Linked DNA regions of Homo sapiens: region 2 is linked to region 1. Evidence: promoter capture Hi-C in 16 types of primary human blood cells and fetal thymus (Javierre and others, 2016). All regions are on one chromosome and are shown on one strand. The core of a region is centred on a gene start or on the middle of the fragment in contact, and the rest is flanking DNA. Distances in the headings are between cores, read along the strand shown. Region 1 holds the start of KRT1 (keratin 1). Region 2 has its middle 11 kb from the start of KRT78.

Region 1 (2,616 bases), core at 42-2,541:
CTTCCTGTGCTGTCTGGCTTTACACACAGCAGGCAGAATGACTTGAATTCGGCTGCTGTGCTGTCGTACAACATGCTGTTTAGGATCTTGCACATGATAGCTAGGTATTCTTGCTTCAAATCGCAGGCACCCCACTTACCAACTGTGTAGACTTGATCACGTTATTCAACCCCTGTGTCTCTGCTTCCTCATTTTACAAATGGGGAGAAAAATAGCATCTATCTCAAAGTTGTGAAAATTAAGCAAGTTAATACATATGTGCTACGTAGAACAGTGCCTGGTACATGGTCAGTTTTTGATACATGTTAGGTATTATCATTATTATCACCTCCAGAAACAATTTAAACTTCTCATATAAGGCTCTCCAGACACCTCTCATTGTCTTCCCTTCCAAATCTGCATTTATCTCTCTCTCTTTGCAGTCCAGTGTGAGGCTTGAATCACCTATCAAGCCTCACCTCCACCCCTGTGCTTTACAAAATGTCCTAGAGCTTCTATTTACTCGTCTCACTGCTCTGTGGGCTTTTTCACTCAAGGGCGTTTGCATGCTATCCATTGCTACCTGTTTTCTATTGCTGGTGTCTGTCTCCTGCTCTATCTTTGAAGAAAAGAAACAAGAAAAGGAATAACTGAGAAACAGAGAAAAAAAATGTCTCTCCCTTCTGGTTCTTCCAGACCACCCACTCATCCATCTTGTTCAATGACAGCTTCTCTTCCTTTAATTAATCACTGTGGTATATTTATAAAGCTTATATTTATGAAAGACCTTTTAATTTTTTAGTTATTAAAGCCCTTTCTCTTTGTCAGGTTGTAACTGAGTGAGCTCTGGAGTTTGGAAAGAAGATCTTAGAAATGGGCCAGAGAGCTCCTTCTGAGATCCAAGCACGGGGAATTGCACCTGCTGTGCATGGTAAGAGAGTGTGCTTGGTAGCTCACAAAGGCAAGGTGAGAATAGAAACTTTCATGCCTTTTTGATGGGGGTTATGAAATCCTACCAAGAAACACCAGGTATCAGATGTGGGGTCCTGTTTTCCCAAAGCCACAAATGCTTGAAGGAAGATCTTGTGTGATAAAATAATTACCACATGAACCAATCTTGCATGCACAGCAATTTTGAGAGCCCATCCTGGGAGCTAGGTGTGTAGTGTTTATCGTATTGTTGAGGCTCGTAAAAATCTTGTATGGCTGCAGGCAAGCCAAACCCTTGACAGGCACTGCATCTCCGCTGACTCTAGAAGACCAAGCCCAATTTCTTCCCTGTATATAAGGGGAAGTCTCTATGCTTGGGGTAGAGGAGTGTTTAGCTCCTTCCCTTACTCTACCTTGCTCCTACTTTTCTCTAAGTCAACATGAGTCGACAGTTTAGTTCCAGGTCTGGGTACCGAAGTGGAGGGGGCTTCAGCTCTGGCTCTGCTGGGATCATCAACTACCAGCGCAGGACCACCAGCAGCTCCACACGCCGCAGTGGAGGAGGTGGTGGGAGATTTTCAAGCTGTGGTGGTGGTGGTGGTAGCTTTGGTGCTGGTGGTGGATTTGGAAGTCGGAGTCTTGTTAACCTTGGTGGCAGTAAAAGCATCTCCATAAGTGTGGCTAGAGGAGGTGGACGTGGTAGTGGCTTTGGTGGTGGTTATGGTGGTGGTGGCTTTGGTGGTGGTGGCTTTGGTGGTGGTGGCTTTGGTGGAGGTGGCATTGGGGGTGGTGGCTTTGGTGGTTTTGGCAGTGGTGGTGGTGGTTTTGGTGGAGGTGGCTTTGGGGGTGGTGGATATGGGGGTGGTTATGGTCCTGTCTGCCCTCCTGGTGGCATACAAGAAGTCACTATCAACCAGAGCCTTCTTCAGCCCCTCAATGTGGAGATTGACCCTGAGATCCAAAAGGTGAAGTCTCGAGAAAGGGAGCAAATCAAGTCACTCAACAACCAATTTGCCTCCTTCATTGACAAGGTGAGTTTCTCTCTCATTGCACTGGTAGGGCTGCCGCTGGTCCACTTGGGATTGGTGCAGTCAAAACACAGTAGGTTTGAACCTCAAGTTTCCATGTTTACATGATTAAAAGGATGTTTTGTGGAATGGTCTCCTAGGAGATATGTTAGATGTATGCTTGTGAATGGTGTTAATGACTCTCTCTTTGACAAAGGGTTCGTGGTCGACCTAAAGGTGGGTCAGTGTGACATTAACATTTAAGTGCTTTTTATTCAGCTCTTGAGCGGAATTGGGACTCATATCTGTTGAATGAAGATAATAGAAATGGGGCTAACTGAACTTTCCAGGGTGCAAGTGAGAACCCTGGAAAGGTCTTCCTAACCATAGAAAGGGAGTTGAGTGTGAACATAGTATAGAGTGTTATTGTAGCAGAAAACATGTGGTCAGTCAGTGCCAAACATCTTTTGCTGTCAGAGGGGAGCTCTGCCTTCTAATAATTTTACATTGGTACTGGATGAGGCTAGAGTTTTTTTATACTAATATCTCCAAAAATCAGCTCTAAAAAACTCAGATAAACCATTTTTTTAATTTTTTGCTTAATCATTAATAGTGCCAATCCAAGGTTATCCACAACAAATTTCAAATCCAATTTTGAATTTTCCTGATATACTTTTGAAATGTGTGTGTGTCCTGGGGA
Region 2 (2,616 bases), core at 42-2,541, 180 kb before region 1:
CTGTGCCCAGCATGCCGCTGTTTGTGCCCCCGAGCCCAGCTCACTCCACCCTCCCTAGCCCCGACCAGCTGTGTCACTGTCATGACCCAGAAAAGGTGGTTACCTGGAGGAGGGACCTGTGGGTTTTCCTTTTGAGGAGTAGGTGGGCTTCAGGGAAGAGCACATCAGCGGGTTTAGGGATTAGATTAGATATTAAGAGAATTTCCTCTCCCTTCCAGGATAGATTGGGAGAGATGCCTCAGTTTCTTGTTTCCCTTTTCTAACTCTGCTTTTCATTACTTCTCTCCTTTGGAAAAGTTTCCCAGACTAAACCTCTATGTTCTATCCCCAAGTCCTGACACCTAACGCTGCTCCTGTTTCTGGTCTTATTTTCTTGGGTTTGTGTGTGTTTGGGTGTGGGTACCACTTCCTCTGTCAGGGAATTTCTGAAACTTTTTTTGAACAGTGATCTCTAATAATAAATTCATTTTATATTACAGTTCTGCATGCGCGCACACACACACACACCCCAAACAAAATTTCATGGTGCAATATTACCCTTACTACCTGTGATGCACACTCATGTGCTGGTAAAGACTCATGCAATTGATTTCACAATCCACTAGTGGGTTGTAGCTTGCAGTTTTGAAAATACAGATCTCCTCTCAGATGGAAGTTCCTTGAAGACGGGCAGAACCTTACTTCCAACACCCAGGGCACAGCACTCAGATGGCCATGGGAGAGATGCTGGCGAGATGGTTGAGTGGGAGGGAGCTGGTCCATGTAATCCCCCACCCTGTCTCCCAGTCCGGGAGTTCCTGCTGCAGCTTCGACTGAACATCCTCAGGGTGTAAGAATCTTGGCAACTTTCCCCTGGAAGTTGCTCTTCACCCTCTGGGGTATTGGGAGGCTGTCCTTAGTAACAGGCCTCATAATATTTGCCAAATCAGGAGCTGTTGCTAGCAGCAGGGCACCCAACTGGCTGAACCTGATTGGGTCAGGGTTGCAGTGGCTGGGTACTAAGCCCTGGATGGGTGTGTCTGGACTCTCAACTCAAGTTCTTGTCTGAACACTTCCCTCTTCCCCTCTCAGGGTCCCCCAGAGTTGGAAGCTTTGTCCAATCCCCTTCCTCTCTCAGGCACCAGCAGTTTGTTCCTGGATGTGTGTTCCTGACTCCCAGCCTGGGACAGTCTCCCTTTCTTCACCCCTGGCCCATGGTGTGCTGGGCCTGCTTGAGCAAACTCAGGAGACCTGATTGTGTGCATCTCTTCCCAGCTCTGCATTCAGTGACATCATGGTGGCAGCTTGAAATCAGCCATGGAATATTTGCACCACGGAAAATGGCAAACACTACAGAACAGACTTATCTTCCCTCCCTGACAGAGAGCCCCTTGTGTAACAATAACACGCCACTGCCCCATCCCTGAGCAGAGTGCTGTGTGTTGCAGCAGAGTGGGAGCGGGTGTCCTCTCCCTTGGGCTCTCCCCATAGCCCCCAGCACCAGGGAAGCTTCTGGTCTCTTTGTTATACAGGAAACATGTACATATACATACTACATGAAGGCTGTACAGTGTTCCTGGGAAGACTATTGGGGCGGTGTATGTTTAGAAGATCTGGGTTTTCATCCTAACTTGGCCTCTTTCCATCTTTGAGATCTTGGACAATTGCTTTATTTCTGTGTCTGTAGAGCAAGGAAAAATAATACCCACATCTCAGATTGTGGTGAAGATAAAAGAAGATGAAGGATCTGCACAGGCCCAGCACAGTGATTGGCACTCAGAGAGTTCTCAATAGTATTTTTATTTATTTATTTATTTGAGATGGAGTCTCACTCTGTTGCCCAGGCTGGAGTGCAGTGGCGTGATCTCTGCTCACTGCAACCTCCACCTCTGGGGTTCGAGTGATTCTCCTGCCTCAGCCTCCTGAATAGCTGGGATTAGAGGTATGCGCCATCACACCCAGCTAATTTTGTGTTTTTAGTAGAGATGGGGTTTCACCATGTTTGCCATGCTGGTCTTGAACTCCTGGTCTCAAGTGATCTGCCCTCTTTGGCCTCCCAAAGTGCTGGGATAACAGACGTGAACCACTGCGCCCGGCCCCCAATAGTATTTTTTAAAGTGTGTTGTAGAACATGATCATGTTAGCCACCATGGGTAAAAGGGCCATTATTATTCCAAAGTTTGGCATCATCCCTCACTCCCACCCTCAACTTGGAACTTGGAGACATATACTTCAGTTCTGGACTCCCAGGCAATGTTTTGCTAATCCTTTCTCTCCAGGGTTTCTGCCTTAGGAATGCCCTCCTTGTAGGTTTCGGGGCCTCTCTACCTGGGCATGGGGGAGCTGCAGAGGCAGCAGCTTGGCTTACCTGTGGGGCACCCTTTCCCTGTTGCAGTGAACCCATTGCCTGGGTGGGTGCCACTTTCCTTCACTGCCAGTTCAGTGAGGGGAGCGGGGGCTACCTGCTGCAGCCCAGCAGGCAGGAGGGTACCGGGGCAGAGAATGCAAGAGTGTGCTCTGCCTGGGTATGGGGTAGAGAAGGGGTGCACTCTGTAATCTGCTCCCTCCTTTCTCTCTTGCCTGACAGGCCAAGATTGGTGCTAGAAGTCAGGGAATAGCCACATTCATCTTTGCCCT

The links. Contacts are between HindIII fragments. The CHiCAGO score rates a contact against its expected background, and 5 or more counts as called.
Region 2: a contact is called between a fragment that was not itself captured here and the fragment with the promoter of KRT1 in region 1, in 6 of 17 cell types (total CD4 T cells, naive CD4 T cells, naive CD8 T cells and 3 more). The highest score is 9.2, in total CD4 T cells.

The regions. Positions count from the first base shown.
Region 1 is chr12:52,679,082-52,681,697 of GRCh38, reverse strand. It overlaps KRT1 (keratin 1), which reads left to right and starts at 1,291. Exons shown (of 9, transcript NM_006121.4): 1 at 1,291-1,940. The coding sequence starts at 1,350. The HindIII fragment of the contact is 12,025 bases long and covers 751-2,616 here.
Region 2 is chr12:52,858,604-52,861,219 of GRCh38, reverse strand. No RefSeq gene overlaps it. Among named protein-coding and RNA genes, the nearest start is that of KRT78, 11 kb to the right of the region's middle. The HindIII fragment of the contact is 398 bases long and covers 1,093-1,490 here.